Linked DNA regions of Homo sapiens: all the other regions are linked to region 1. The links are contacts of gene promoters, found by promoter capture Hi-C in blood cells and fetal thymus (Javierre and others, 2016). All regions are on one chromosome and are shown on one strand. Each heading gives the region's core, a stretch centred on a gene start or on the middle of the fragment in contact. The rest is flanking DNA. Distances are from core to core; before and after follow the strand shown.

What was found. Contacts are between HindIII fragments. The CHiCAGO score rates a contact against its expected background, and 5 or more counts as called.
Region 2: a contact is called between a fragment that was not itself captured here and the fragment with the promoter of SRFBP1 in region 1, in 1 of 17 cell types (naive CD8 T cells). The highest score is 5.9, in naive CD8 T cells.
Region 3: a contact is called between a fragment that was not itself captured here and the fragment with the promoter of SRFBP1 in region 1, in 1 of 17 cell types (total B cells). The highest score is 5.9, in total B cells.
Region 4: a fragment that was not itself captured here is called in contact with the fragment with the promoter of SRFBP1 in region 1 in 1 of 17 cell types (naive CD8 T cells); the score reaches 5.4 in naive CD8 T cells.
Region 5: a contact is called between the fragment with the promoter of ATG12 here and the fragment with the promoter of SRFBP1 in region 1, in 2 of 17 cell types (total CD4 T cells and naive CD8 T cells). The highest score is 5.8, in total CD4 T cells.
Region 6: the fragment with the promoter of TMED7 here is called in contact with the fragment with the promoter of SRFBP1 in region 1 in 3 of 17 cell types (non-activated CD4 T cells, naive CD4 T cells and activated CD4 T cells); the score reaches 13.7 in non-activated CD4 T cells.
Region 7: a contact is called between a fragment that was not itself captured here and the fragment with the promoter of SRFBP1 in region 1, in 1 of 17 cell types (naive B cells). The highest score is 5.6, in naive B cells.

The regions. Positions count from the first base shown.
Region 1 is chr5:121,960,462-121,963,308 of GRCh38, forward strand. It overlaps SRFBP1 (serum response factor binding protein 1), which reads left to right and starts at 1,514. Exons shown (of 8, transcript NM_152546.3): 1 at 1,514-1,607. The coding sequence starts at 1,572. RefSeq lists enhancers at 1,167-1,705, 1,450-1,499. The HindIII fragment of the contact is 3,156 bases long and covers 1-2,847 here.
Region 2 is chr5:116,059,145-116,062,045 of GRCh38, forward strand. It overlaps ARL14EPL (ARF like GTPase 14 effector protein like), which reads left to right. Exons shown (of 4, transcript NM_001195581.2): 4 at 1-345. Among named protein-coding and RNA genes, the nearest start is that of COMMD10, 24 kb to the right of the region's middle. The HindIII fragment of the contact is 4,719 bases long and covers 1-2,901 here.
Region 3 is chr5:113,514,441-113,517,719 of GRCh38, forward strand. It overlaps YTHDC2 (YTH N6-methyladenosine RNA binding protein C2), which reads left to right. Exons shown (of 30, transcript NM_022828.5): 2 at 832-922. Among named protein-coding and RNA genes, the nearest start is that of YTHDC2, 2.4 kb to the left of the region's middle. The HindIII fragment of the contact is 580 bases long and covers 1,236-1,815 here.
Region 4 is chr5:116,095,683-116,098,701 of GRCh38, forward strand. All of the region lies in intron 4 of COMMD10 (COMM domain containing 10), which reads left to right. Among named protein-coding and RNA genes, the nearest start is that of COMMD10, 12 kb to the left of the region's middle. The HindIII fragment of the contact is 263 bases long and covers 1,174-1,436 here.
Region 5 is chr5:115,840,315-115,843,557 of GRCh38, forward strand. It overlaps ATG12 (autophagy related 12), which reads right to left and starts at 1,251. Exons shown (of 4, transcript NM_004707.4): 1 at 1,076-1,251. The coding sequence starts at 1,238. It overlaps AP3S1 (adaptor related protein complex 3 subunit sigma 1), which reads left to right and starts at 1,621. Exons shown (of 6, transcript NM_001284.4): 1 at 1,621-1,792. The coding sequence starts at 1,724. RefSeq lists enhancers at 114-614, 618-1,519, 908-1,207, 1,218-1,267, 2,258-2,467 and silencers at 1,498-1,877, 1,978-2,167. The HindIII fragment of the contact is 16,491 bases long and covers 1-3,243 here.
Region 6 is chr5:115,624,103-115,627,327 of GRCh38, forward strand. It overlaps TMED7 (transmembrane p24 trafficking protein 7), which reads right to left and starts at 1,934. Exons shown (of 3, transcript NM_181836.6): 1 at 1,499-1,934. The coding sequence starts at 1,690. It overlaps TMED7-TICAM2 (TMED7-TICAM2 readthrough), which reads right to left and starts at 1,934. Exons shown (of 4, transcript NM_001164469.4): 1 at 1,499-1,934. The coding sequence starts at 1,690. RefSeq lists a silencer at 1,590-1,659 and an enhancer at 1,830-1,999. The HindIII fragment of the contact is 9,571 bases long and covers 1-3,225 here.
Region 7 is chr5:128,074,474-128,077,710 of GRCh38, forward strand. The region is part of intron 1 of SLC12A2-DT (SLC12A2 divergent transcript); the gene reads right to left. Among named protein-coding and RNA genes, the nearest start is that of SLC12A2-DT, 7.1 kb to the right of the region's middle. The HindIII fragment of the contact is 4,703 bases long and covers 1-3,237 here.

The DNA of each region.
Region 1 (2,847 bases), core at 264-2,763:
GACAACCTAATGTCTCTGTGCTTTAGGGAGCATCGTATTAAATAGTAAATTAACAAACACCATGATGAGTCAAGAGACGCTATGGAAGAAACTTTTTTTTTTTTTTGAGACGAAGTTTCACTCTTGTTGCCCAGTCTGGAGTGATCTTGGCTCACGGCAACCTCCGCCTCCCAGGTTCAAGTGATTCTCCTGCCTCAGCCTCCCGAGTAGCTGGGATTACAAGCATGCGTCACCACGGTCGGCTAATTTTGTATTTTTAGTAGAGACGGGGTTTCTCCACGTTGGTCAGGCTGGTCTCGAACTCCCGACCTCAGGTGATCCGCCCGCCTAGGCTTCCTAAAGTACTGGGATTACAGGCATGAGCCACCACCCTCCGCCGGAAGAAACGTTTTTCCTGCATTTTGAATAAAGGGGCCTGGATTTTCATTTTGCACTGTACCCCAGGTATTATGTAGCTGGACTTGAAGTCCTGTAGCAGTGGACAGTCCCAGGCAAGTGACTCTGGGCGAGGCACTTGGTGCCTCTGAAGTCACTTTCCACATCTGTAAAATAATAGTTCAGAGCAGAGTAGGGTGGCTCACTCCTGTAGTCCTAGTTATTTGGAAGGCTGAGGTGAGAGGATGGCTTGAGCCCAAGAGTTTGAGGCTGCAGTGAGCTATGACTGTGCCACTGCACACCAGCCTGGATGACAAAGAGAGACTGGGTCTCTAACAAAATAATATTAATAAAAGGAAAATAATTTCTATCTTGTTGGATTTCTGTGGAGATTTGGAGCTAATTTATGTAAAGCTCTTGGACCACCATTTGACACATTTTAATGGTCAATACTAGAAGGTGTTGACAATTATATATTACCTAATTCAAACACACTCCCTTACGTCTCCTATGCTTGCCGGCTAATAAACAGCCATTCCCACAGGCAGTACCAAATGTGTATCCTGGTTTTGCTTCAAATGTTTATTCCCTAAATTTAAACCCTTCTATAGTGTGCAGGAAAAAAATGTCCGCACCTCAGCTATAATGTCAGGTTGTAACAAAAAACTGCGAGGATTTAAAAAGGTGTGCTTGTTAGAAAAGCAGAAATCTTCACAAATACTAGATTTAAAAAAATGGAAGCAAAAAATCGTTCATTCAAGTGATCATTTCAGAAGAGCTCTTTCACCGCCGTTCAGCGCCCCCCTAGCCATTAGAGAGAAAAACCAAGGCCGGTACAATGCGAGCGCAGTGTACCAAGGGAACACACACACACACACACACACACACACACACACACACACACACACACAAACCGAATCTTGAAAAACTAGACGTTGCCCAGCTACCAGCCCCCGTCTGGTTTCCATAGGAACGCGCAATTCCGTTGCGTAGCCCTCTGCGCCGGTAGTTGTTCTGTCTCAGTTCCGGTTTTCCCTTCCAAGCGTCAATGTTTCTTGTTCCCAGGCGGCAGCTAGAGCAGAAGGCGGATGAGTTTTGGACAGAAGAGGCTTCCGTTGAGGGGCGTGGCGACGCAGCCGCGGTCTGAGAGACCGGTTCACGTGCAGGCAGCGGCGGATCATATTCCTTCATCTACCATGGCTCAGCCGGGAACTCTGAACCTCAATAACGAGGTGAGCGCCGAGGAACCTATGGGGCTGACTTTAAGGGTCCTCAAAACCAGCTCTTTTGAGACGCGTGGTCGGAGGCGGGCATAGAGGGTGCGGTTGGAGGAACTTTCGTGGTGGGCCCAGGCGGGTTTCCCGCAACTTGGAGTTTGGCAACCGGTAATTTCCCTTTTCGGTCTCCAGGTGACTAAAGTGAGAGACATGTGTCAGGCCCCACGAATTTATGTCTGTGGGACTTTGGGAAGAACCTTTAGCCTGTACGTTCAATATTCTCGTCTGTAAAGCGGAACTCAAGATAGTTCGTCCCAGGGTTGTGAGATTAACTGAGATACGTAAAGTATTTGCAAGTGCCTGACCCTTAATAAACTTTCAGTACACATTACCTGCTCTTTATTGCCTGTCGAAAATGAAAGAGAGAAAGTAAGAGCTGTAGCTTCTAAGAAATTGGTGGTCTTGAATGAGACTGTATGCTCAGTACTTCGTTTCCTCTTCCAGTTAGTGTCCTATTTCTTTGCTTCCGTTTACAGCAGAACTTCAATAAAGAGCTGTTTATACTTGCTATCCTCAATTCTTTTTTCTGCTTTTTCAGTCCATTCTCATCAGACATTTGTTCTCACCACCGTCACTTCCATAGTGTGCGGTGTCGACAAAATACCATTTCTACCACTTATCCCCCTCTGGTTTCTGCTTCTATTCAACAAAATAATGTCATCCAAAGTCTTAAAGTAAGCTGGAAACATAAGGATCGAGTAAGGACCTCACAGTTAGATACAGAAAGGAAATTCTTTATCCCGTTTATGAGCAAGTCACTGTTTAGATTACACACAGTAGTGTAAGGGATATTTCATATTTTCTAGTAACCTATACTCAAGTAAGAGAGCTAAGCAACACTCACCTGTGTTACAGAACAATGTGTGAAGAATGCCTCCAAAACCTAGTAATGCAGAAAAGTTTCCAAAGGCGGCAAAATGAAATGGGTGATACTTGTCCTTGGTCTTTAGGGATCTTGCACAGGAATTGCAGTCAGTGATTCAGGAAAGGGGAAGAAGTCATTCCAGGCAGAGGGACTGGTATAAGCAGGAAAGGGCTAGTAGCAGAAGAACCCGTGGGTAATACAGGGATAAGTAACTCTTCACTGATGGGAACTTGTGAGATGAAGAAGGAAATAAAACTGAAATATATTCTCTGCTGCCAGATTAACGAGTCAGGATTTCAGTTGACAGTGGAGTACAGGATATGCTGAAGA
Region 2 (2,901 bases), core at 348-2,847, 5.9 Mb before region 1:
TTAACTTGCAACCAAAGAATGTAACAATGGAGGGATCAGCATTTCTCATCAGCACCCTCATCTCTACTCTGCCTTCAAATTAAAACTCTCTTCCCTCTTTGCTGATATCTGAGAAAATGTAGCTTTAAGATTTTCAAAACTCTGTAGTTGAGAGCTTTTCTTACATAGAACATAGAATCTTAAATTTATAATATCTAGTTGTCCTTAGAATCTTATACATCACTAGCTGTAAATCAGAATTGCCATTTGGATTTTGAAGAAAAACTGTGACTTTGCACTGTATACCCATAGCCTCATTTTTTTATTGTTCATGTTTTAATAACATTAAAATGAAATTTAGTAATACTTGGTAGTATTTTTAATCATTAAAATTTGTATTGTACTTGTAAAATTGAAAAGTTAGGAATTTATTATCCTAAAAGCCAGGAGTTTACATATTTTTGATTTCAGAAGCAGTATTTCAGGATTTGTTTTTCATAGAGAGAAAACAAGTTATACAAAAATGATTTTCTGTATGTTTGCTAATTGAGTGTGTTGATAAGCAATTGACTAGATAAATGATGTAGTCTTTTCAACTTTGATACATCATCAGAGCTATAAAATATTGAATTCAGCTTTCTTTGAATTCATTTTTTTATGACAGTCTTTTTTTTAACCCTAAGTCAATGGTTCTCATTCATGAGAATTGCCTAGAGAACTTGTCAAAACATAGATTTTTGCAGCCCCACATTCAGAATCTGGGACAGGGCTCAACCATCTGTTCCACGTTCCCAGGTGATGTTGATGCTGCTGATGTGGGGACCACACTTTGAGAACCACTTCTCTAAATTATTTTAGATACATAATGTAAGGAAGTATTTAAACCTCATTGACTATGATACTGCCACTGCACAAAGCTGGAAGTATTTAAATAAAGTAACGTAATAAAAATTTAAAAGTAAATAAAAGCATTTAAGTTTTAAAATAAATTTGAAATAGTATAAATAGAGGGTTTTTTGTTGTTGTTGTTTCTTTTTCTTTTTTTTTTAGACGGAGTTTCCCTCTGTCACCCAGGCTGCAGTGCAGTAGCGCGATCTCCGTTCACTGCAACCCCCGCCTCTGGGCTCAAGCCATTCTCGTGCCTCAGCCTCTCAAGTGGCTGGGATTACAGGCTTGCACCACCACTCCCGGTTAATTTTTGTATTTTTATTAGAGACGGAGTTTCACCATGTTGGCCAGGCTGGTCTCAAACTCCTGACCTCAAGTGATCAGCCCGCCTCACCTCCCAAAGTGCTGGGATTAGAGGTGTGAGCAACCGTGACCGGCCTTTTATAAATAGAGTTTTCAGGATTTATTTTTCCTTCATAATCAGTTTAACACTCACTTCTGCACAATCTACTTGTGCCAGGGAACGTTTCTGACAGTTCTGGATTTGTTGCTTGACGTATGTTTTAGGACTAAAATAAGAAAAGTCCTAAAAGTAATGGTGTGACTACAGTACACCTGTCCACGGAGCAAGAGAACTTACATTCTTCTGCATCATTCTCCATAGAATTTACTGGGTTTTCCAGATTTCACTTACTTTTACTGAGCATACACTGTGAACTAAACATTGTGTTAACACGGTAATGAATTGCATTTCCTTTAACCATCACAGCCCAGTAAGGAAGACGTAAAATCAAATTACCCAAATCACATTCTTTGAAATGCTCACCAGGAATGTGCAGCCGGGAAACCAGTAAAAACAAGCAGGGCCTTTTTCAGTTTATATCTTGTTTTATTTTTGAGAATAATTATTATTTTGTAATTGGCAGACCAAATGCATTTATTACTTCTTCATTTTAGAATCATATAATCTTAGAGCCAAAAAGAGCCTTGCAGCTCATCCATATAGTGAATTAGTCGACAAATACTAACAGAGAGGCTGCTCTGTGACAGGCAGCAGGCTAGGTGCAGGGGACCAGGCAGTGAACAAAATCTGCAGGGCTCCTGTCTTCATGGGGCTTATGGACTAAGGCCAAACTCTTTTTTGTTGTTGTTGTTTTTGTACCTTTGCAACTGAGGAGATTTAGACCCAGTGAGATTAAGTGACTCAGGTAAGGACACACAGAAGAATTGGCAGCCCTGGTGTTTTGAACACTAAGACTAGGTCAGAGCTCTTTCAATGATGCCACGTATTTCCTACACTACGGTCATTAAGTGCTTTTAATATAATAAACATTCCTAAGACCCATCCCCAACCTCAGGAATCAGAACCTGTAGGAATGAGACCTGGGATTCCATAATTTTAAACAAGCATTGCAGTTAAGTCTTATGATCTGATACATCTGAGAAACACTGCCCTATATCATCAGTTGTCCAATTTTCATGCTAAAAAATAATCCTAGGCAAATTAGCATTAAAGCCTCCTTCCTTTCTGTCTCCTCTTGTCACTCAGTCTTAAGGATTAGATAAAGGAATCTGGTTTAAAATGATCTGGCTTAAAAAGTGTGTTGAAAAATTATACTGGTAAATTTTCCAAGTAAGGCAAAAAATAAAGTAAAAAACTGCATAATTAACTAAGCAGACACCTAATACTGCTATCATGGAAGCCTAGTAAAGCATTTGATGAAGTACACTTTTAGAAATCAGGTTATTTCATCTTGATCTAATGCCATTTCAGTGTATTTCTAAAACTTCTCTTGCAATAAATAATTATTACAAAAATAAATTTATGTGAATTGTCTAAAACTTATTTTGCAAGTGTCTAATTTTTATTACAAAGTGAATAAAGCTCTTTAGCTATTTGAACTAAATTCAGATTAACAAGGAATGCAGCTGTACTATCTGATTACATTACCCAAGGAAATCGTCTTGTCAGTGTGACAGGACTTTTTTCTGCTTGGCTATCTTTCAATGCTGATAGCATGTCTTCATGAATAT
Region 3 (3,279 bases), core at 276-2,775, 8.4 Mb before region 1:
ACAGATGTAGAAGAGCAGAAAGAAATCAAACATATAAATAAATGCACCAGCAATACGTTTGGACCCTGAAGCATCACGCTACCCACTTAAATTAAACTTGTTTGGCACACGAAGCATCTTCCACACCTCTTGAGGTTAGATAGCCACTTGTCTTGGGTCATATAATGCAGAACCAGCAACTGACCTGCGGTGACCTGTGCAGTCTGTTGAGGGCTCATTCGGACCTGCTGGCTTAGTTAGGGGACCTCTTACTCTGGAATCTTATAGTCCAAAACGGGGAATGTTCTAGACAGAGAGATTCTAAATTCACATTAAAAAAAGAGAAAGCCTCAGCAATATATAACAAATCCCTCTGAAATAGTGAAATACGAATTCTGTACAGTTTTGAAAGCAAAGACAATGGAGTTTCATGTTGAGAATTCATAATATTTGAACATATCTCATCATTGAAGAAAATAAACATTTTGTTAACTAAACAAGTAGGGACCAAGTTAAATATGTTCAGTCATTATACCAACTCAAAATTCCAGAACAAGTAAGAGGAGTCGTTTTTGGTGAATATCAGAGGCCTTTATCACATTTAGGTTTAATACATAGCTGTCTTTTTATTAATATCAGAATTCTGATAGACATTCAGTAGTTATTGAATTAATAAAATATCTTAATTTTATTAATTTACATAAATAGAATATGAAATATAAAGTTAACCTCAAATAAAGTATAATAAATTTGATTGTCTATGTATGTTTTTCATATTTTGTATCTGTGTGTTTTACTTGAGAGAAAATTGCCTATCTACAAATTTTACTACTTTGTTTTTTTTCCGTGTAGAAATGGAATTTCCTTCTTCTTTGACCAGTACTGAAAGAGCCTTTATTCATCGACTCAGTCAGTCTCTTGGTTTGGTCTCTAAAAGTAAAGGGTAAGCTGGTAGCTTTTCTTATTTTTTTTAAAAAAGATTATTTGCCCAAAAAAGGGAGAAACGTTTCTGAGTACATTTAAGTACTTATTACTGTTTTAACTTCACATTCTTAATTGTATCATATGTAGATAAAAGATTCAGGTCTGTACCAAATTCAACTCTTTCCTCTTCCCTCTGTCTACCTCTTCCCCCCTTTTTTGTTTTGTTTTGTTTTTCCCTAGGAAAATGCTTTTTCTTCTACCCAGCTTAGGTTCCTTGGCTGGGACCCTGCAAATTAGACTGATAAAAGACATATTAACAAGAGAAAAACATAAGCTTATTAAGACATGCATCATGCATACATAGGGGAGAACTCGATAGTAACTCAAACATGGGGCTTATGTGGCATCTTAATAAAGAACAATGAATTTATTTAAAAAATGACAAGACAAAGGAAAAGGACTTTGAACTTGTAGGTGCAGTAAATTGTGGGAAGGTATATGTGGGGAAACTAATGGAAGATATGTGTTCTTTTAGCAAGGTTGGTTATGTAGGTTCCCCTGGTGCTGTCTCTATTAAGAGTCTAGAGTGGTTTCTCTTGTTAAGAATAGTCCTTCCCTTTCTGGTAAAGCAGGGGAAGGCGGAGTTTTTCTTATGTCTGCTTCTTCTCGATTGCCTTCAGCTCAAAATAATCCTTATGGCAGAGTGACATATTTTTGGGTGGCATACCGTGAACTCTTTCAAAGGTAAATTTTAAGATGTAAGAAAAAAATAGTTTAAAAGTTGAAGTTGATTGCTTGAGAAAAATATTTTTATTTTTTGATAGAAATCTCATTTGAAAAATGGATGTACAAAAGATAGTTGCAATTATTTATGGAACTTACTTCTTTTACTGTTACTGCAATATAATAATAAGCTTTAGAGCATATGTTCATTGTTTTCTTTCCTACCAAGTCAAGGATCTGATGATTAGAAATGATTTTAAAAAGTGGTACAGGAGGAAATTGTTTTGTTTTGTTGGGAGGATCACAGAGTTACATTGAGGGAAAAGTCATTTGAGCCATCCAAATTGAAAAACTCTAAAATTCTGTGGCGCTATTTCATTTTGTTAATAAGGATGGTGGGATCAATGTAAAGGAAGCTTTCTCACTGTTGGTGCTATTGACATTTTGGACTGGATAATTCTTTATTCTGTTTTGTGTACTGTAGGGTGTTTAACAGCATCCATAGCCATTACTACTACATGCCACTAACACTCCTAACCCCAGTTGTGACAACCAGAGATGCTTCTAGAGGTTGCCAAATGTCCTCTGGAGAGCAAAATTGCTCAGGTTGAGAACTACTGACATAGAGGGAAGAAAAGGATAAAATTTCAGCTTACCGGTATGTTTTTAGGTTAGGAAGAGGGAAAACAAAACTTTATTAAGTAAATATATTAATAAATATTCAGATGGTCCCAAAGTGAAAGCAGCTGATGTAGGAATGTCTTGCATATGACTGCCTACTACAGTGATAAATTACTGAGACACGGGATTTAGTTTAGGTGAATGTGCGTTTTGAACATCACTAAGGCCAGTGCTGGAACAGTGGTTAGATTCCTGAATGTGCCCATCTTATAGTCCACTAGGTAGGTAAAAATACTGCACCTGAAAATAAAAATATAGTTCAGTGCCACAATACTTTATCCAGAAACACTTGGGCTAAATATATTTGAGATTCAGATTTTTTAGACTTTAGAAAGGTATTTGGGTATATTTGCAATATGTTGTATAATCTACCTAATAAAATATGGCCATCACCTTTAGTCACATTTATATTTTTGCTGGAAATTCTATGAATATTCACACTGAGACTATTAATAACCTCATGTCAGTTTAATCACGTGATCACATTTGATGTCAAATGAGGTTACTGCAAACTTAAAAGTTTCCAGTTTTTGGCACTGTTTGGGTTTACTAGTTGCAGGTAAGAGGTTTTGGGCCTGTGCTTGGAAACACATGTTATAAATGTACAGTTCTGTAGCTACATCATTTCTATGGTTACATGGGTCTTGCATTCTAAACAGCTAACTTAGAAAAGCAGTCCATTAGAGTAGACTTCCTGTCCTTCTCTTCAGTAGCATAGTCATGTAAGAGCTGATCTGGAATGAATAGATATCTTGGGAAGGAGAATTCAAGAAGGAAGTTATGGAGACAAAAATGGGGAATGCGGAAACATTGAAGAGCCAGAGAAAGAAGAAAAAGGAAAGAGATGCTAAGGGAAGCAAGGCAATCCTGCCTATTTATCCAGTCCCTAATACCTATAACCTTAATGCTTTCAAACCTTCTTACGAAATACCCTAGCTCCTTCTCTCTTTTTTTCATCTTTGAGTAAACTTT
Region 4 (3,019 bases), core at 55-2,554, 5.9 Mb before region 1:
TCTAGGAATTTGCAGCCTAATCATGACATAAATATTTACTGTTTTCTTCTAAATGTTTTACATATTTATATTTTATGTTTAGATCTAAAATCCATTTACTGTTAATTTTGTATGATACATAAAGTGCAGGTCAAAGTTCATTTTTTCTATGTATGGATGTTCATTTGCTCCAATGTGATTTGTTGTTAAAATTATCATTTTGTCATTGAATTACCATGTGTTTGTCTAAAATCATTTGATATTTTTGTGAGTCTTTTTCTGGAATCTCTCTTTGATTTCATTGACTTATTTGTCTATGCCAATATCACACTGCCTTAATTATTATAGCTTAATAGTAAGTGTTAAAATCAGGTATTGTGAACCCACTGACTTTTTTCTTCTTTTTTATAATTGTTTTGGCAATCCTAGTTTCTTTGCCTTTTCATATGTTTGAAAATCAGCTTTTGTATTTCTGTAAAAAATCCTGCTTGGGGTATTGATTGGGGTTGTGTTTAATTTGTAAATAACTTTATTGAGAAATGACTCCTTAATAAGTATTGAGTATATCTATTTATTTAGGTCTTCTTTGATTTCTTTTATCAGTGTCTTTTGTTTTCAGCTTATCAATCCTGCCCTTATTTTGTTAGGTTTGTACCTTAAGTACTTTTTCTTTCTTTTTTTTTTTGTTGTTGAACTATTGGTAGTATTTTTCAAATTTTGTTTTCCAATGGCTTATTGATAGTATATGGAAATACAGTAGACTTTTCTATACTGATCTCTATCCTGTAACTTGGTAAATTCACTAATTAGTTTTAGCAGCTTTCTTATAGGTTTTTTGTGATTTCCTTTGAAGGCAGTCACGTTGTCTGTGAATAAAGACAGTTTTATTTCTTCCTTTTCAATCTGTAGAGCTTTTATTTTTCTTGCTTTATTTTACTGACAAGGACTTCCAACGTGATGCTGAATAGGAGTGGTAAGTCTGAATATCCTTGCCTTGTTCCCAATTTTAGGGTGAAAGCATTCAGGCTCTTATCATTAAGTAGGATGTTAGAAAATGCCCCTTTATTGTTTTCACTTCTCTACTTCCCTTTTTAAAAATTCTGTATTCTTACTACTCTCAAGTGTCTTCTATGTCATTGCTTCATTTTTTATCATTTTAAAGTCTACTTTTTCCTATATCCTCTATAGATTTTAAGCTTTCCATTTGTTTCCCTGCAATTCTTTTTTTAAGCCATTTTCATTTTTAAAAAAAATTCTTGGCTTTTTAATAGTAGCCTGTTTTCTGTTTATATTTTTCCTATATTTTATACAGTCCGTTTTTTTCCTTGCACTTTAGTAGTCATAACAATTAAAAATATTTTTGTTTTCTGCTTCTAATAGTAAATTACTTTTTAGTGTCTTCATGATGAAAGTTTGTTTTTTTAAAGGTAATATTTTTCCCATAGTTGGATTACAGAAGCTTCTCTTTAAGAAATTAATTAATCATTTGTCATATAAAATATGCAAATAAAGAAGTTGGAATGATCTGATTAATTGTACATTGTCCCATTGAGAATGCTGGAAATTATCTTTTGGTAATTCTGGGTATATCATAGGATTGCTAATATACTATTTTAAAGTCTGAAATGCTTAAATAATATAATGATAACAAGCATTTATTGTGCTTATTGTGGGTCAGATGTTATAATGAGTTCTTTGTATGTTACAAAACCCATTAATAGTTCTAGTTTATACATGTACTTATAAAATTGAGGCTTAGAGAGGTTTAAAAAGTTGCCCATGATTGTACAGCTAAGTAAGTGGCTGAGTTGGGATTTGACAAGAATAGTCACATTCCTAAGCTATTATGCTATCCTAACACATAGATGTTAGCTGCGGAATTTTTCTGCGTCAGGCATTATGCAGGGTGATTTATATAGTTGTTTGTATGTACTTCATATTAGTCCATTCTCACATTGCTATAAATAACCTGAAATAGGGTAATTATATAAAGAAAAGAGGTGTAATTTGCCCACGGTTCTGCAGGCTGTACGGGAAGCATGATGTGCTGGCATCTGCTTGGCTTCTGGGGAGGCCTCAGGAAACTTACAGTCATGGTGGAAGGTGAATGGGGAGCAGGTGTCTTTCATGGCAGGAGCAGGAACAAGAGAGAGAGGGAGGAGGGAGGGGCTACATACTTTTGAACAAGCAGGTCTTGCGAGAACTCAACTATCACAAGAATAGCACTGAAGGGATGGTGCTAAAGCATTCATGAGAAGCCTGCCCCCATGATCCAGTCACCTCCCACCGGGCCCACCTCCAACACTGGAGATTACAATTGCACATGAGATTTGTTGTGGTCACAGATCCAAACCATGTCACATACCTTTTAAAAGTGAGGAAATAAAACTTTAGAAAATATTAGTCACTTTATCATATTATCCCAAGTGGTCCATGATGAAACTGAAATGAGGATTGGATCTGTCTGTCTCTAAGTCTTATTCCTTTTATATCATGCTACCTCTGGCAGCTGTAATGCTATCTTTCTTTTTCATTCTGAGAACTGTTTAGGATACTGTGGCCAAAATAGCCAGATGTGAAAACAGATCATGCCATTTAAATTGTAACAAAAATATATTACACTGACTTATATGATGAAAAAAGGTGTACATGCAATGACTTTAACTGTTTTATGGTAACTTAGGGTCCTACCCACATAAACTGTGGGGTGCTTGCAGCAGAACACATGTTGGTAGTACAGTCAGCCCTCTGTATCCCTGGATTTCGTATTCATGGATTAAACTCGCAGCAGATCAAGAATATTTGGGAAACAAAAAATTCCAAAAAGTGAAACTTGAATTTGCCATGTGCTGAGTACTATGTTAAATCCACAGAAATGATGTGTTGTCATTGTATTAGTTATTATAAATAATCTAGAGATGATTTAAAGTATAAAGGAGGATATGTGTAGATTATATTTAAATACTGTGTCATTTTATATGAGGGACTTGAGTATCTGCAGTTTTGGGTGTCTGTAGGGGGTCCTGGAACCAGCCCTCGC
Region 5 (3,243 bases), core at 1-2,500, 6.1 Mb before region 1:
GAGGCGGAGTTTCGCTCTTGTTGTCCAGGCTGGAGTGCAATGGCGAGACCTCCGCCCACTGCCACCTCCGCCTCGCGGGTTCAAGCGATTCTCCTGCCTCAGCCTCCCGAGTAGCTGGGATTACAGGCGCGCGCCACCACACCCATCTAACTTTTATATTTTTAGTAGAGATGGAGTCTTACCATGTTGGCCAGGCTGGTCTCGAACTCTTGACCTCAGGTGATCCACCCGCCTCAGCCTACCAAAGTGCTGGGATTACAGGAGTGAGCCACCGCGCCCGGCCAGAGACCACTGTCATCTTAAGACAGAACGGGGAAAACGTCTAAGGACGAAATCAGCCTCTCTGAATCGAGGATGCTTATATGCTGCTTTTCCCATAGGCAACTCTAACTCTAAACAGAGTGCTTTAGAACACGTAATTTTAGCAATCTCTTTTACAAAGGGAAACATTCTCAAGCAATAAAGGGTTGAGGATAGCTGACTCAAGCAATGAAATAACTCACAAAGGTTCCAAAATGTGTTTCTTAAAAAGGTAACATCTATGCCTTTAGCTTTCCCTTAGCAGTCTTCATTCTGCATAAGAATTTGGTTTTTGGTTTAAGGAGTGAATTCACAACCAACTGGGAGGGGGAAAAAAGCAAAAGCGAGTTAAGTTGGAAGGCATGAATTCTAATCCAGGCTTTGCCAATGACCACCCCTACCACCATAAAACATTACTCAAATAATTAGCTCCTGTGTTAAGTACCTGGAATTACCGAGACCCCCCTCCCCCCGCCCCACTCAGCTCCCTCCCTCCTTCAAAGAGCTCGCAGTCTGGCCAACTCAAAAAAATACAGTATAAAAATAAGTGTGGCAGCCAAGTATCAGGCCCTACACCGATAGACAGAGATGGTATTTTAACACTCAACTTAAAGGCCTTAAAAATCAAAAAGTACACTTCTTTTCTTCTGATGACTGGTCAAAATGCAGGTCTAGGACAGGCGCTCCTCTAAATTTTGCTTCTTTACTGGCCGCCACCCCTACTCGGATGCAATCTGAACCTCCCGCCTCTCTGCCCGGAAATAAATTCAGTTACTTTTTTTCTTGGTGTCGCCAGCAGGTTCCTCTGTTCCCGGGGAAACTGCAGCGGAAGACGGGGGCTCCGGGGTGGTTGTTTCTGGGGAGACATCCGTAAGTCCTTCCCCTCCAGCAGCAATTGAAGTAGGAAGCTGCAACACAGACTGCGGCTCCTCCGCCATCTTGCTTGGAGACACTCGAGAGCGGAAGTAGCGACTGAGCGCGTGCAGTGGGCGTGCTTTTCTCCAGGGAGCGTCGCAAAGGAGGCGCCGGAGTAGGGGGACGCAATTACACAGTGAAACTTGGTGTTCCCGGCTAGTCATTCAAATCGAAGCTGTCGCAGACCTCTGAACGTTAGTAACGCAACATGTGTTTCTCCGCGACTACAGACCTCGGGAGAGGAGCGGTGGGCAACGTGTCTGTGCTCGGTCGAATGCGCACACTCCAGTTAGGCCGCTGGCTCGGACCTAGAAATGTTTCCGCTTTCCTTAGTGCCTGCCCCGCCCAGGCCCCGCCCCTTGGGCCCCGCCCGACGGCTCGGGAGCGCGCGCGGTCGCGTGCGGGAGGGGGCGGGTGGGGAAGGATCGCAGGCGAGATTACGAGGCGAGGCTCGCGCGCCCGCCCCCGCCCTGGCCCCCAGTGCCCACCCGGTCGGCCCGGCACAGCCATGATCAAGGCGATCCTAATCTTCAACAACCACGGGAAGCCGCGGCTCTCCAAGTTCTACCAGCCCTACGTGAGTATCCAGCCGCCGCTGATCCGGGCGAGGGGGAGTCGTTGGCGACGGGCAGCGCCCAGCGCGGCTTTCTCAGAGCGACCCCCTCCGGCGCGCTGCGGCCCTTGTCCCGTCCCGGCCGCCTGGCGCTCGCCAGCTGTCAGCCTCCTGGTGGGTGTGGACAGGGTGCCCACCTCCCTGCCGCGCGGTCAGCCACCGACGTGGCTTTGCCCGGGCGGTTCCTCCGCCCGTCGGTGGGCTGCATGCTTTCCTGGCTGCGCGGGCGAGGCCCTGGAGACTTCCCGGGGCCCGGCCCTCGCCGATCGGGCAGCCGCAGCCCAGCCGCGCCGCGGAGCCCTGCGCCCAGTCCCCAAGAGCCCACCCCGCGCGGCTGCCTTCCTGCCGCCCGCGGCTGCAGTTAGCCCGGGAGGAGGAAGACGGCGTGGAACTCGTTCTTCTCGCCCCCCTCCGCCGACTCCCATCCTTTCCAGGTGGACTTCTTTCTGTTCTTTGGACAGATGGGCTACCGTTTTTCACTGTGGTCCTCTCATAGCACAGGAACTTTGGCTTCCTGCGTTTGATAACTGCACGTTCTGTACAGTCTCTCTTCTGCATGTTTCGATACGTGACAGACTGCCCAGTGTGACTTTCAGGTGTCTCCTTATTGAAAAGGAAGATATGTGAGGACCTAATATTTTTATCAGGCTTTTTACCAGCTGGCTGCAAATTATTTACCCTCGAAGTAACCGGCGACGTTTGTAGTTGACTGATTGGAGCTGTGGTTCTATACCTAAAAGTTATGATTTCAGCTTCTGGTTTGGCATTTTTCCACGTATGGGAATTTGCCCTCATTTATAGTTTTTTTCTATTTATGAAGAATAGTAGCATTTGTAGAACTTCTCTTTTAACGTGTAAATACTGTTTAGTATGGACAAGTGCAGGAGGCATTAAGGTAGTAGAGATAAGTGATTTGTTGATGATCGAGGAAGGGTTTTATAGAGTTATGTGCTTACCTGAGGGCAGAATTCGCTAGCTGAAACACATAAAATTGGACTCCCAGTGGTAGGATTAATGTGAGGTATAACTGTTGTGTGGTATTGTGGCACTTTGCTTATAGCAAGAAATGAGCTTTCAATTCAATTTTGAAATTGTGCCAAGGCTAACACTTTTATGCAGATAAGTCCCAGATGGAAATCAATCTTGCCATTACAAAGTAAATGTGAAAATGTCAGTTTGCCTAAAATGATAATGCAGTCTGGAGGTGTTAGTTGAAGTGAGAAATCTTGAGCTTATTCTTCATTTTTTTCAGTTGTTTTGCTTTTGCTAGCTATAAAGAATATTTTCTGCTACTCGTGTGTGGTTTTAATTTAGTATAACTTCAATACTAATGGTCTGTTTAAAAATTCTACATCATTCTTTAATCCAGATTAAATTCTAGTTGATCCTCCCGAATGGGAAAAAATGCCATTAAC
Region 6 (3,225 bases), core at 684-3,183, 6.3 Mb before region 1:
TTGTAGTAGTATCCTTAGCACTAATCACTGAGTCTGCATACACAAAAATCCAGGAAATGTTTATTAAATTCAAACAAAGAAAATGTCGGCTTATACTTTTTATCACAATTCCTGCTATCTTCTTTTCTGTCCCCTGGTGCTAATCCATGAAGGTAAGTAAGCCTAAGGGTCATCCTTGGCCTCCCCTCCCTGACCCACTATAGCCAAATCATTACCAAGTCCTGTTGATTCTACCTACTACCTTCTCTCCAATCCTTTCACTTTTCATTTACCCCACTGCTATCACTCTACTCTAAGCCACTATCATTTCTTGTCTAGACCACCATAATAACCTCCTAATCAGCCTTCCACATCCGCTCTGCAACATCTTACCATCACTTCTCTACCTGCACAAGTTATTATTAATGCAGCTACCAAGAATATTCTCGTCATATCACTGAACTGCTTATAACCCTCTGATGGCTTCCTACACTTTCAGGAAAAACAAATCCTTAACATGGTCAGCAAGACACTATCTGGCCTGCCCCTGCTGACCCCCTTGCTCTGGCTCCTTATTCCCAACCATATTGGACCTCTCTCTATGGCCCTGAAATTCTCAGTGTTCACTACTACCACAGGCTATTCCCCCTCCTCCCTTACCAAGGTGTTTATAGCTCATCCTTTAAAGTTCAGCTTAAAATAATTTTCCAAAGGAAGTCTTCCTTCATGGATCCTACTTACTGCTCTTAAGGCACAGTTCTGATGAATGAGCAGATACCAGTTAAGAAAAGCAGGGTGAGAGGGGAATCATGAATGATGGCAGTGACCCTATCTGTTTCGACCACTTCTGTACCACTGGCACCTAGTATTCAATAGCTACTCAAATGTTAAATGCGCCTACCAACCAAAATTGAAGCTCAGTAAAGACTGTTCTAACCAACCGAATAAACCACATTCTGTTAAAGTTTCTTTTTTATATAATCCCAAATATCAGAAGGGGCCTCTCATTTATCACAGCAATTCTTTCTACAACTCCCTTGGCAAATGGCCGTTCAACCTGTAATGGAGCTCTTCCAATGACAAGGACCGTATTAACCAACAGTCCTAATATTGGTAAAACTGAAAAGCAATGAAGTTAGACATTGGCAGCACTCCAAATCCAATTAAATTGGAGGTGTGGATTAGAGAGTAGAGGGTTGACACTGGGTACTACAGAGTATAAATGATTTTCTTTAAGGGAATCTTTTAAGGAAGAAAGTTCAATAGGCCTTAAAAATGAGATGGAAAGAAATGCTAAAGGGAGCATTTCTGGAATTCATATATTTTAACACCCGGTCTTAACATCTCTCACCCAAGGTTTATTAGAGGAAAGTCAAATGCTGGGCATCAGCTACCTAGAAGCGATTTTTGAATTAGCCTAAGAACGGGGAAACACGGACAGGAAAGTGCCATCCCTCAAGTTACACCCCCAATCCTGGAGCCGCGAGTTGGGGCCCAGGGACTGCTAGGCCCCTGATACCTGGAACTCCAGGGTGCACTTGGTGCCCTGAGCGATGTCCTCGTAGAAGCACTGCTTGGCGTTGTCAGGAAGCTCGAAGGTGATCTCAGAGGCGCCGCCGGGTCCAGGCACCAGTAGCAGCAGTGCGAGCAGCCTGCACCCCCAACGGCCCGCGACGGCCGCCCAGCGCTGCGCGGACCCCGGCCGCGGCATCCCGAGAAGGCGGCGGCGGCCTCAACCGAGCTGCGAGACGCAGGGTCAGGTCTGCGCGGACTCACCGCGCGCGGCAGGCCTCAGCGCAGGCCACCCCGCAAAGATACACAGCAGAGCAGGTTCACGCCTGTGGGAGATTCGGGATCAGAGCGACCCTCCGGCTTCCTGTGAGGGGCGCAGACGGGCGGACCTGGGGAGGTAAAAGAGAAGCGGAAAAGGCCTGAGAGGGTCGGAAGTGGGGATTAGCCTTTCGGGGGGTGAAGGGGCGGAGCCTGAGACACCGGCTCCCGTGACCCGGATGCGTTCTTCTCCGGGAACACGCGTTGGAGTGCGTACGTGGAAGCCCGCGAGGCGTTGGCTCTGCCTCCGTTGCAGCCTGGGACGAGGGGCGGGGCCAGAGTCGTGGGCGGAGAGGGGCGAGACCAGGAAACGGGGCGTGGCGGCCGCCGTGGTTACAGGCGGTTGGCGAGGGTAATTACGCTCCAATCACTGGCTTTTTTTGTTGTTTTTTTTTTTTTTTTTTTGAGACAAGAGTCTCGCCCTGTCACCCAGGCTGGAGTGCAGTGGCGCGATCTGCGCTCACTGCAACCTCCGCTGGGAACTTAGCGCTGGGGAGCATCTAGGGAGTGGTAAAGGGCTCATTTTGCCCTAGGGTGCTAATCGTTGGTGGTAGAGCGCTTTGCAATTTGCGGAGTTTTCTCATAAGTAATAATAAATATTTGGGGGAAGCAGCTGGGCAAGGAGCGCGAATTCTAAGAGCAGACTGCAGGAGTGCTTAATCCCTGCTTTGCCACGTACTGGCTGTGTGACGTCCGGCCACTTGCTTAAATTCTCTGCCTCAGTGTGTATCTGTAGAATGGAGATAATAGCACCTACCATAGAGAATTATTACAAAGTACCAATATTTGGAAAAAGTACCTAGAAGTGGTTGGTACATAGCAAGCACTAGATGAACTTTTGTTAAATTAAACGTCACAGTGCAATCAATACATTACATACCACAAGATAGGCAAAAATTTTAAGTGTAACAATAACAGATATTGGTCGACTTATAGAGCCACAAAACCTCTTATACACTGCTAGTGAAAAAGTAAATTGGTTAATCAAGTTGGAAAACAATGTGCCATTATCTAATAAAGTAGAATATATGTATACACACACAGAACACACACACCTATATACAGTGTGTGTGTGTGTGTGTGTATATATGTATATATATATATATATATATAGCCTGGAATATGTAGCCACAGCCTGGAAATTCCATTTTACATATATTTATGGAGTATATGCTTTAGAGCAGTGGTTCTCAAGTGTTGCTCTGAAGTCCCCAGAAGCCTCCTGAAACCCTTTCAGAGGGTATGTAATGATCTGTATGAAGCTGGATTTTCATTATATATTTCAACCAAAACAGCATAACAGATTGAATATCAAAGGAAATGAGCACCCAGCTTCTTCCTTAAATCTAGATATGAAAGATTTACAAAAATAAGGTCACTCTTCTTGCTAAATTTTTATTTCGAAAATATTTTTAT
Region 7 (3,237 bases), core at 213-2,712, 6.1 Mb after region 1:
CAGATTGGCACATTTGGTCATATGCTCACAATTTGGCTGGGGCAGGCAAGCTCCTCTATTATGTCCTTCCAAAACTACACACAGAGAGGTAATTCCAGTAAAAGAATTACCCCCACCTCACCAAAGAAACAAAACAAAACCCAAACAAAAACAACAAGAAAAATGTGTATGCTATTACCACAACAAGAGAGAATGGAAACCCCACTTCTAGGATACAGTAATGGTCTTCTATAGATATCAATGGGCAATTCAGAAATAAAAATATATAAATGATTAAGAAACTTTAAAAACTATAACCTCACTAGAAGTCAATGATCTGCAAATTAAACTTTTGTTGTTTTTTTTTTTTGCTAATCAGATTGACAAAGATTAAGAAAGATTTTACTCTGACTTTATAAGGGTGGTGGAAGGCAGAAATTCAAACACAATGTTGACAGAAGGATAAATTGATAATAACCTTTCTGAAAATCAATTTTGATATGTATGCCAAAAGTTTTAAAAATATACATACCCTGCTATTTCACTTCTAAGAATTTATCCTAAGGAAATACTCAATTAAGAAAGATATATGCACAAAGACATCCAATGTAGCACTGCTTGCTCTTATTTAAAAATGAAATAAACAGGGTTCAAAAATAGGTGATAGAGTCAGTAAATTATGATAAATCTACATGATGCAATATTATGAAGCCATTAGAAATCATGCAATTGCAAGATATCCATTTTCATATATAGAGAAATGTTCACATTACTGGTTTTAAAAACTATAAAACATACCATAAATCATTTTGTAATACCATAAACAGGAAAATGTTATTTCAGGGTGATGGCATTATAAGTGTTACTTCCTTTTGCTTTTTTCCTATGACTTCTATATTAATTATTACTTTATAAATAGAAAGATGTTATAAATAATAAATATCTACTTGACTTATAGATATTAAATTCTTGATATATATCCTATTATATATCAAGAATTATATATTATATCAAGAATTATATAATATGGAATATATATCAATAATATCTATCTATATTATATAATATATATTAAGAATTTTATGTCTCTAGAAATTGGTTACAATTCAACCAGGCATGGTGGGTGTCTCAGCCTGTAATCCCAGCACTTTGGGAGGTCAAGGCCGGCAGATCACTTGAAGTCAGGAGTTCGAGACCAGCCTGGCCAACATGGTAAAACTCCATCTCTACTAAAAATACAAAAATTAACCAGGCCTGTTCGTGAGCACCTGTAATCCCAGCTACTTGGGAGATTGAGGCAGGAGAATCACTTGAACCCGGGAGGCAGAGGTTGCAGTGAGCCGAGATCATGCCACTGCACTCCAGCCTGGACAACAGAGAGAAACTCAGTCTCAAAAAAAAAAAAAAAAAAAAAAAAAATTGGTTACAATTGAGGTGGAATTTTAGTTCAAATCTCTTAAAAAACAAGAAACATTTCTTGACTAATCAGAAGAGCTGATACTCAGGGCCATATTCAAAGTCAGCTGGTACTTCAGTTTTAAATGAAAACAATTACATGAACCGTAATAACCTGCCTTTACCTTCATACTCATGTTTTTAAAAACTGCCATATTGAACCTAATAGTTTTGGCCCACATTTAAAGGAAGATTAAATTACTTGGAAAGGGCCCAGAGGACAGTAATAAAAATAATTACATACTTAGAAATTTGGTCCTATAATGACATGCAAGAGGAAATCATTTAGAAAATAAAACTGAAAATAACCTTACACTTTTACGGGTTACCATAACCTCTGAAGAATGGGACAAGAAGCCAAAGAATTGAATTATAATGAGAATAATTTAATTTAGTCATTAGGAAGAACATCTTATTCCTCAATAAGTATTTGAGTGATTATTAATGTCCAATGCTATGGCATAAGGACTTGTAACCACTAGGATGTGTTACTAGAAATTATTTTCTTAAAAGTGTCAGAGGTAGAATATTGTGCAAAGTAGGGGCTTATTACATAACCCTTTAAGATCTTTTCCATATTTATGATTTTTACAAAATTTCAGGCATCTAGAATAATTATAAAAACATATCTTATTTTTATGGCTTTTTAAAAGTGAAAATAGATTAATAATTAAGAAATATAAGAGGATAAAAATATTAGAGATTTTTCATTAACATTGAGGAAAATATAAGTATACAGTTAGTTAGGAAACGCATTATATTATTTGACTCCATAAAGGGGAAGCAATTAAACTAATTATTAAGATATGAGTACATGTGTGTTAAGTGTCAGTATTTGTATTTTAAATCTCTTTTTTTTTAAAGTATAGTGCAATGTAGTGAATGCAGACAAAATGTTCCTATAACATATCTGTACAGATTTTTTTCTAAGACGGGAGTCTTGCTATGTTGTCCAGGCTGGTCTTGAACTCTGGGGCTGAAGCGATACTCCTGGCTTAGCCTCCCTAGTAGCTGGGACTACAGGCACACACCAACTTACCAGTAACACATTAGTTTTAAGGGGCTCAGATGAAGGAAAATAAAATGGATTTAAGATGAGTAAAAAAGAATCCTCCTTTGTCTGGGCTTGTTCCATCTTCCAAATATGTAGCAGCAACATAATGACACTAAAAACTGCCCTAAAAATCTGTAACAGAAAAAAAAAATAGCTTACATGCTACTCAAAAAATTACCTAAATACCTCTCAAAATCAAAACAAAAAGCAAAGTAAAAAATAAAACAGGACATACTTGCAAGAAAAGATATGACCTAAAGGTTGTATCTTAGCCCTGTTTGTTTTTTGAATAAAATATTAAGTTTTAAGCATTTATTTACTGTTTACATACATTAGGCCTTACCATATTATCAGGCACTATTCTAAGTATTTTACGAATAGTACTTTATGTAATCCTCATAGCTCCACAAGTATGAGGGTGTGGTGGCTCATGCCTGTAATCCTAGCACTTTGGAAAGCAGACTGCTTAAGTCCAGGAGTTCAAGACCAGCTTAGGCAACATGGCCATACCCTGTTTCTACAAAAAACAAAAAAATTAGCCGGGGATGGTGGCCTGCACCTGTGGTCCCAGCTACTCAGGAGGCTGAGGTGGGAGGATCACTTGAGCCTGGGAGATCAAGGCTGCAGTGAGCTGTGATCTTACCACTGCACTCCAGACTGGGTGACAGAGCGAGACTCTGTCTAAAAAAAAAAAAAGCTACCATTGTTATACCCCATTTTATAGATTAGGAAACTGAGGCACAGAGGTC